Regions from separate parts of the Homo sapiens genome. Here regions 1 and 2 are each linked to region 3. The links are contacts of gene promoters, found by promoter capture Hi-C in human tissues and cell types (Jung and others, 2019). All regions are on one chromosome and are shown on one strand. Each heading gives the region's core, a stretch centred on a gene start or on the middle of the fragment in contact. The rest is flanking DNA. Distances are from core to core; before and after follow the strand shown.

Evidence for each region. Contacts are between HindIII fragments. The study calls those that stand out against the background at their distance.
Region 1: a fragment that was not itself captured here is called in contact with the fragment with the promoter of KIF21A in region 3 in 1 of the 25 tissues and cell types used here (pancreas).
Region 2: a fragment that was not itself captured here is called in contact with the fragment with the promoter of KIF21A in region 3 in 1 of the 25 tissues and cell types used here (lymphoblastoid cells).

Annotation. Positions count from the first base shown.
Region 1 is chr12:39,591,099-39,594,451 of GRCh38, forward strand. All of the region lies in intron 6 of ABCD2 (ATP binding cassette subfamily D member 2), which reads right to left. Among named protein-coding and RNA genes, the nearest start is that of ABCD2, 27 kb to the right of the region's middle. The HindIII fragment of the contact is 6,479 bases long and covers 1-3,353 here.
Region 2 is chr12:39,310,773-39,313,884 of GRCh38, forward strand. It overlaps KIF21A (kinesin family member 21A), which reads right to left. Exons shown (of 38, transcript NM_001173464.2): 32 at 645-781. Among named protein-coding and RNA genes, the nearest start is that of KIF21A, 130 kb to the right of the region's middle. The HindIII fragment of the contact is 8,015 bases long and covers 1-3,112 here.
Region 3 is chr12:39,441,831-39,444,858 of GRCh38, forward strand. It overlaps KIF21A (kinesin family member 21A), which reads right to left and starts at 1,290. Exons shown (of 38, transcript NM_001173464.2): 1 at 1,097-1,290. The coding sequence starts at 1,140. RefSeq lists enhancers at 231-300, 1,119-1,619, 1,901-1,960 and a silencer at 921-1,820. The HindIII fragment of the contact is 12,215 bases long and covers 1-3,028 here.

The sequences.
Region 1 (3,353 bases), core at 206-2,705, 150 kb after region 3:
TACCACTAAGTACTGCTGTGTTGTCGTAGCAAAAGAAGTTAACAATCTGAAAGGCATAAAATTTAACTATCAATAATTCACATAACTATACATGCTGGAACCAATCATTGCATCAGGGTTTTTCATGCATAGAAAGAACTAGATTTGAGTCATTTATAGTATTCTTAAAAAATGTGTGATAATAAGAAGAAATATTCAAGTGAAAATAGATATTTACTATTACTGAAATTATATCTTTTGGATAAGATATTTCTAGATTCCAAAACAGAGATGAGAATAGCCTCTTAAGAGCAGGGATGAGGTTTATTTCCAAGTAATAAAAATAATATTAGGCCAGGTGCAGTGGCTCGCATCTGTAATCCCCGTAATTTGGGAGGCCAAGCTGGGTGAATCACCTGAGGTCAGAAGTTTGAGACCAGCCTGCTCAACATGGTGAAACCCCATCTCTACTAAAAATGCAAAAATTAGCCAGGTGTGGTGGCACACACCTGTAATCCCAGCTACTTGGGAGGCTGAGGCACAAGAATCTCTTGAACCCTGGAGACAGAGGTTGCAGTGAGCCAAGATTGTGTCACTGAACTCCAGCCTGGGCAATAGAGTGAGACACTGTCTCAATAAGTAAATAAATAAATATATTATTAGTGGAAGAATTAAAGTATTGCTAAGCTGTTAAAAATGCAAATTTCTGTAAAAGTCAACTTTAAGAGTATTTATCATTATATCAGATTACCATTTAAATTGCTGATATTTGACCTATAAAAATTGCAGTTCCATATGGTTTAATGTAATAGTACTCATAAAATGAGAAAAACTTTTGAGTGAGAGGGGAGTTTTTTCATTATTACTTTTATAAATGAGCCCTTAGAAAAGTTAAAGATTTTAAAAAGTATCTTTAGCATTCTTCCAAGCCATAGAAAGCTATAGAAAATTGTGTTTACATTTATAGATCTCTTTAAAAGAGATTTAAAAAAACTGAACTGTACCAACTACTACACAGGAGGAACTAAAATGTACAACTTCTATTTCTGTCAACTGACTGCCCAAAGGTATTTATACAAAGATTACTTGGCTGTAAGTCTAACAGTCAGAAAGCAAGGAATAGAAGTCAATTTGCTACAGCAATGCTACTAAGCCTTCCTTGTGGTTAAAATAATTTTCTAAAAAAGGACATGTTAAATGACAGATATTTATCCCCATCATAAAGAGAATTTTGCAACATACCTACTGCAAGCAGCAAAATAAATAGATTGCTCATAATTAGTGTAAGGTACCAGATTGACTTGGCAGTAGAAACCAAATCTGTGGAGATGTTCATTCATTCAGTCAATCACTTATCAGATATTTATTGCACAATTACAATATATTTACTAGGATCCTACCAGTGCTGTACAGAGACATGTGGTTGCCTTTTCTAGCTTTTAATCTATAAAAGTTTGTTCAACAGTGACTCAACAAGGGCAAAGTCTGTTCCAGTACAACCCCTACTCCCAAAGCCATATTTCTTTGCTTTGAGGGCAGCAGGACAATAGATATGTAACCTACATACACATTGGCACAGTACATAGGTATAGAGTTCTGTGAGGAGCTCTGGATTAAGCCACATCACATTCCTCCTTTATTCCAGTGGCTTTTATAGACCCATATTCCACTCAGGCAGTGGCCTGCTAGTCTGCCTCTTTCTTAAATAAACACACTCCTTGTCCTCAAGAGGTGCACCCTGTTTGCCTTTTGGCAGCTAGATATTCATTAAGAATTGACAGGTCCAAAAGCTAGAGACCTATAGGAAAATTGAGATTAAGATATTTAAAACAGCATACCCCAGATTCTTGCTTAGATCCTTTTCCAGACCACATCCTCATTTTTAAAATCTGAGATCTTGGATAAAAAGAAAAAAAGCAAGGATCTCACTGAGAATACTTTAACAGCACCCTTTCTGTCCTCCATAGAGAAAAGAGGCAAATCAGTTCTTCTGACCTGATCTCATATGCTTTCTAGTTAATAGCCATCATCTGGTTTTATATGTGTGGGTTAAACAATGTTGATATATAACACAGAGTTCCCTGATCCCTACAAAGAAGAAATCTTAGATTTGGAAGTCATTCATATAGAAACAATAGAAAATGGAACTTCACAGCTTTTATTTTTTTGTTTTATTTTTATTTTTATTCTTTTGAGATAGCATCTCACTCTGTTGCCCAGGCCAGAGTGCAGTGGTGCAATCATGGCTCACTGCAGCCTCAACTTCCCAGACTCAAGCAGCCCTCCCACCTCAGCCTCTTAAGTAGCTGGGACTACAGGCAAGTACCACCATATCCAGCTACTTTTTTATTATTTGTATTGACGGGGTCCCCCTATGTTGCCAGGGCTAACCTTAAATTCCTGGCCTCAAGTGATTATCCAACCTCAGCCTCCTAAAGTGCTGGGATTACAGTCATGAGCCACCAGGCCCAGCCCAGAACTTCATATTTTAAAATATCCATAAAGCTTATTTGGTGCAAGTACTTCTTAGTGCACAGGGCAGTTGTGCCAATGTTGGTATTATCGTCCTTCAAGCCCTTTCTGCAGAACTTCTGAAATAAAACACCGTCTTCACTGTTGCAAGCGACAATCTCTTCTTTTGATGACATAAAGGGTAAGTCATGATCTTTTTAAGCCATAATGCATCCTGAAAATTAAGGTTTGCTTGTTTTATATCTCAACAAGAATTCTGATTTAAAATTAAGGGACTATTTTTGAAAAATTCTTTAAAATTTTATGGAGAAATGAATTTTAGAAGAATAGGAAAGAGTAGAGAATAAAATTTAATTTGAAAATGAATTGAACACCAATAAATTTTTTAAAATTTCACTTTCATATGAGAATATAGCTTCCTTCACCTTAACATATCTGAATGATGGCCAAGTACCTATGCTAAAATGTATGTTAAAATTGACTTAATTGCCATGTACATCGAGGATTATGAGGACCTCTGCCTCCAAACCACAGCTTGATATTAGTACAGATCAGCACACCAAGAAAACAACCTTAGCTGGTGATACTTGCAAGGTCAGGATAAAGGGTAGTAATTTTTCATACACATGCCCCTGTTGATACCAATAAGGCAAAATGACTTTAGGGTAAGGCACATCTGAGTTCAAATTCTAGCTCCAGCATTTATCCACTGGAGGACTTAAACCTCTTTAAGTTTTCTCACAAAATAGGGATACTAATACCAACTTTATAGGTTGTCATACAGAAAAATAAGAAACTTATATATGTAGAATTGTGACTAGCACACACTAATTGTTTGACATATTGTTAATTACAAAAAATAACAATACCCTAGAGATGCTCAATCCTGGTTCAGGATGCCT
Region 2 (3,112 bases), core at 458-2,957, 130 kb before region 3:
CTCTTAGTCTATAACTCTTCAAAGCATTTATAGCTGGTTTCCAGTTACTTGCAATTGTACAAAAGGGGTTAAGAGTGCAGGATTGAAGAAGGGTATACCTAGGTTTCTAATCCTTGTTCTTCCACTTACTAGCTAAATTTACCTGAGAAAAGTATTTATTCACTTGAATCCTGAGTTTCTTTGTTTACAAAATGAGGATGCAACATGTATCTCATTGAGATTGTTGTGAGAATTAGGTGAGATATATTAGTATACTGCCTAGCATAGCCCCTGATATGTAGTAAGTGTTGCAGAAATAGTGGTTGCTATGCATCTTATTCTCTTTCCCATATTGTATATTTAAATAGCCTTTTATAGATTTTTATATAACCTGCATTTCAAAATTCAGGACTCTACATGCAGTACATGCCCAAATACTGTAGAGAGATGTATTCTGTCACCATTGTATTCACAAAACATCAACAGAGGTTTTACTTGCTGCTCAACTATGCAATAATTTTATATATTTTACATTCAGGGGTTGAACCAGATTATCCGATTCTTTCTGGTCTTAAATAGTTTGACAGTTTTCTAGAATATGTTAAAAATGTAATTTTTTTTAAAAAAAAAGCTATTAAATATCTGCATTAGATAACTACTAGCACCTTTTGATCCAGTGAAGAGGAGATCATCAGTAGAATCCACACAGAGCACAGCTTTTGTATGCCCTTCAGCTATGTGAATACACTGAAGTGGAAAAGCTCTGATTCCTTTTGAAGCAGGAAATGGGTTGATTATGCCCCTAAGGTGGGGAAAAAACAAACAAACCAAGACTCACTTCAGTATCATGAGACTATATCATGAGACTAGTTTTGTTTTTTTCCCCTAACTTTAAGAAGTCTTTATAAGTAATTAGTAATAAAATCCAGACTGCTCTCTTTTAAGCAAAAGGACAAAGTGTGAAATAATAATAGTGATGGAGTATATCAACTAATCAGGCATCTGCTAACAGCTGCATTCTGCAAAGAGCAAAGACTATAATACATCTAGATTTTCTTATTAATAATTTCATCTCTCCAAGGTTTAACGAAGCCACAATGGGAATTATTTGAGTGTACTGAATTCTGACAAATAAGGAAGGAGCAGAAATGACAAATAACAGGAAAACATAATTCTATGTCAAACTGGTGTGTAAAGGAACATGCTGGAGAAAGTGTAATATATATGCCACCTAAAATACTAAGAAAGCAGATTTCAAACAAAAATTGAAGATAGGAATAATTGAATGAAAAGAAATTCTAAAGGGACAATGGGTTAAAAAGATCAAAAACTTAAAGAACTGACAATCTCAAAGAAAATTTTAAAAGAATGAGAATTTAAAATAACAGTGAATGGATAAAGAAAATGTACATACACACAATGGAGTACTATTTAGCCATAAAAAAAGAAAGAGATCATATCATTTGCAACAACATAGATAGAACTGGAGATCATTATGTTAAGTAAAATAAGCCAGGCACAGAAAGAGAAACATTGGATATTCTCACTTATTTATGGGATCTAAAAATCAAACAACTGAACTCATGGACATAGAGAGTAGAAGGACGGTTACCAGAGGCTAGGTAGGGCAGTGGGGGTTGGGAGAGGTGGGGATGTTTAATGGGTACAAAAATAATAGAAAGAATAAAGTAAGACCTACTATTTGATAGCCCAACAGGGTGACTATAGTTGATAATAATTGTACATTTTAAAACTACTAAAAGAGTATAATTGGATTGTTTGCAACACAAAGGATAATTGCTTGAGGGGATGGCTACCCCATTCTCCATGATATGATTATTGTGCATTGCATGCCTGTATCCAAACATCTCATGTACTCCATAAATATATATCTACTATGTACCTGCAAAAATTTAAAATAAAAAAATTAAAAACAATGAAGCTCTTTAGGGAGCTTTCTCATAAATTTGATATTTTTGTAGTTTCTGCTTTATGGCACTGGGCTATGTACTATGGAAATATAAAGATTATCAAAACATTGTCCCTCTCCCAAAGGAATTTAAGATAGGGTCTGAATTAAAATAATGGTGTTGGGGAGGCTAAAGATGATAATGAATTAAGACATGACAAACAGTCAAATGTACCTTCACTCAAAGCATTATATGCTTCAAATTATGTTGAATTATGTCCATTATGTAAGACAAATGGCATATTAGGACAAATATAAGGATAAAGGAAAACTGTTTTGTTTCCATCTTCTTAATGAAAGAGAATAATCTTCGAGATGCAAGAGGGCAGAAATGATTAAGAAACGTGAGCCCCAGATAAGTTAGAGCTGACAATGGAGATTTATTCAATAAATTCAAGTATTTCTGTTTTTAAATCATTATATCATAGGGTTTTGAAAGTATATGCCATTGTGTAAGCAAAATCCTTGTCAGTGCTCTAAGAAATCACAAAGATCAAAAAAAGGGACAAAACATGTAGACCTGATCTTCCAAAATGCAGGAAAAACGTGGAATTCAGAAACTCAACTTCTCGTTGAGTCTCAAAGAGGAATACATTAAGCAAATCATTATCCACTTAAAAATAAATGTTCACCAACAAAAGATAACATGGGCTTATCAATTTCATGGGGAAAGTTTTTTGTAGGGTTAATGGATACCAATTTAAGGGAATGTCACATTCACAATATATGTTGACTCTAATAAAGCCCATACAATAAGACTTTTAAATGATATCCTTGTGGACAATGTGAATAAGTATGGAACTGTTAGAGTAAAGTATTTCCACAGGTAGTTGAAGAGTCATACCTAACGAGTCAAGGTCACTGCTGATCTGGAAGATCTTTGGTATCTAGTCAATCTTTACCTAGCCCTAGGGAGAAGTGGCATGCTTATTAAATGGATATATTAAAGAACTGGACATTATATTGCCTGAAAAAAATCACTGAAACAAAATTCATTTATTTTATATGCCGACTCACTATCAATGATTTGTTTAATAGAAATAAATATTTCAGGAGAAAGACAGCGATAGACTTACTGCATTCTATGTAGGCCATATATGGAATGAGGTGTAGTTTTAGATGTCCCATTTTAAGAAGAACATTGAAAAATTGGAGCCTTTACAA
Region 3 (3,028 bases), core at 40-2,539:
CTACAAGACTGGGAGATTGTTAATAGTTCCTAATTCCTTGGAGTGTAGATTATTTTTATAATCCTTAAAGCATAAATAAGGAGAAGTGAATTAACAGTAGACTCTCAGAGCTGTGAAAGCCACGCACTTACTCTAGGATGAATGCTTCATTAATTTTTCACACAGTGTGATGATGTTGCAATTTTCCATGAGCAACTATCAGAGCTTTCCTTCTTGATAAGTATCAAAACAGCCGAAATTACATCGAATACTCGTGCCTGTCATTGGCCGAAATATAATTTCAATACTAGGATGTACCTAGTATTTCCAGACTCACACCCTGGCCTGGGTAACGTTACGATTACATTGTATCCACCCTGCCTAATGTCAGTATGTTTCACACAGTCACCCATTTCACCCTTCCTCTGGCTAAAGAGTTTTCCTCCTTCTGTAGACCTCTCCCCAGTGGATTTTACCTTAAATTCCACTCCCATTCCAACACCCAAGAGGCTAGATCTGTCTCCTCTACCCACACGCGGGGGCATGTCTAGATCCCCGTGATGCTGAAAAAGATGTCTCATTTGCACAGACATCAGAACCCGAGTGGGCGCGCGGCGGGCCCTGCGGTCGCCGGCGCTGATAGTCAGATGCTTTGTCTCCTGCCTGGGAAGGCCGGAGCTGCATGGACACGTATGACAGACATTCTAGAACTAATAAAAAAGAACACCACAGCCCCGCGCACAGGCAGCTCCTCCCGGACAGGCGATAGCCCAAGGCGGCCAGACCTGAGGTGACTGATCCCGCGAGGGGACGGAGGGGAGTGACGAGGGCTTTTCCCCCAGAGAAGTCAAGACGCCCCCCAGGGACCCGGCGCCGCGCAGCCGCCAGCCACCTGCAAACACAGACGGCGTGAGGGCGGCGCAGTCGCCCTGCCAGCACCCGGCCGCGCGTGCCAGGCCAGCGGGGACTCACTGCCTCAGTTTCCTCAGCCGCAGAACCCGGCCGGGACGCCCCTCAGGTCGCTCCACCCCGGTAGCCGGTGCTCCGCGCCACAGCCAGGTCCTTGCCGCGCCCTCAACCCGCCGCCCGCCGCCCGCCGCCGGCAGACTGTCCTCACCTGACAGCCACCCGCACGGAGCTCTCGTCCGGGGCGCCCAACATGCTGGCGGCGGGCAGCGATCGAGCCGTTGGGCCTCGGCACCGCAGAGCTGAGGCGCCACTGGGGCCGCGGGACTCGGGCGCAGTAGGCTGGGGCGTCTGCGGGCGGGCGGCCGGCTCACCTCCGCCGCGCTCCAGCCATGTTGGGCGACTGAATGGAAAGGTGGCGGCGGCGCTGAGGCAGCAAGAGGAGGAGGTGATTCACGGCTCGCGGGCGCCCGCCCCTTCTCCACCGCTCACCCCCCAGGATCTGGGGCGGGGACAAAGCGCGCTTGAACGGCGAGCGCGCCTGTGGAGAAGCCAACAGGCCGCCAGCGGCCTCAGGGCGGCCGGGTGAGTGCGCCCTGCCCCCTCCGGTGGGGACGCGGCCTCCCAGCGGCCAGGCTGGGGACTCCACGCCCGCCAGGGCGCTCCGGGCTCCTCGCCCCGCACTGCGTCAGCCGCCGCCGCGCGGCTCAGCCCCACCTCGCCCTCCCCCAGCCTGCGCCCCGCCCTGCCCTCGTCGGGACACTGCCTGGCGCTGCTGGGCAGGGAGGCGAGGGGGAGGGATGCCTGCCGCCGGCTGCCCTCGCCCGAGGGCGACCAGCCTGTGCGCCCTTCCAGGCTCTTCTGGGAGAAGGAAGCAGCTAGTGCACGCGCTGCTGCCAGGTCCCTTCTCAAATCGAAGCTTGATTCAGCGGCGCGCCGGGAGCCAGGCAGCTGCTGCTGCGGTTCGGCTTTGTGTCCCACGCATAGCCTTATTGTCCTCTCTGCAGCTTGGACTTTGACCCCCTTCCCTAGCCCCCAGCTGAACGCCCTCCCTCCTCCCTCCCCGGAGTCAGTCATTCATGCTAAACGGACTCCCAGGTTTGTCCACTGTCTCTGGACAGCTGGGCTGTTCTACAGTTCATCGCCCGTTTACCAGCTCGGGTGGGATATGGAAATGATTTATTCGAGACTCCTGAATGCTTTTCTGTTCAATCATTTGTACACTGGTAAATGAACTGCACCCTGGTACTGCCAAGTGTTCCCAGAACTGAATATATCCACCAAGACCTGCTGTGTAGTAAATCCTTCCAAACTGATTTTCTTTCCCTTCTGGCCTTTAAAAAGCACCTCCCAATCCCAGGATTCTCTCAACATTGACCCATTGTGGTTTCTGTTTGTCACTATTGTGCTTCCACATGCCTTCAGATAGCTCTGTGGAAACAGCCTTTATTAGCTTTGCCACAGAGTATCTTTTGTGGACTGCTCCATACATCTCTATAAACAAACATGTGGCTTCATACGAAATAGTATCACAAATTAAATGGCACTATCCAAATAAAGGCACTACCTCAAATGCCTGCAATCTACAATCACATACCTAATCATCTTGTTCAGCAGTGATACAGCAGTGTGGCTCAGAGAAGGCTGCAACACTATGGGAAAAACAAGAAGTGTTTGATGATTTAAACCCATGGGAAGGCCGATGGGGTATATAATTATAGATAGTTTTAAATTTATTCTGTCCCTTAATCTCACTACCCCTAAATCTTAACAGACATGTAACTGGGAGGTAAAGAGGGCAGAGATGCTGAGTATCCTTCTATAGATCAAATTGGTGGGAAAGCTCTCCTCTGGCTACTCTTTGGAGGGCCTTTCCTAGCCTCAAAATTTATCCATCAACAAATCAGAGCTGCATTTCACCCTGCCCTGGCAAGCCCATATCTGGGTGGATCTGGGCTGGCCACCTTGCTTCTTTTGTTGATGAAAGCTGCAAGGAAAGCAAGAATGGCCCAGCACATTTAACAAGAAAACTAAAGAGAAATTTGTATAATTAAGACCCTCTTTTTAAAAAAAGTTCTTTTTTATTTTATTTTATTTTGAGACAAAGTCTTGCTCTGTCACCAGGCTGGAGTGCAGTGGCGTG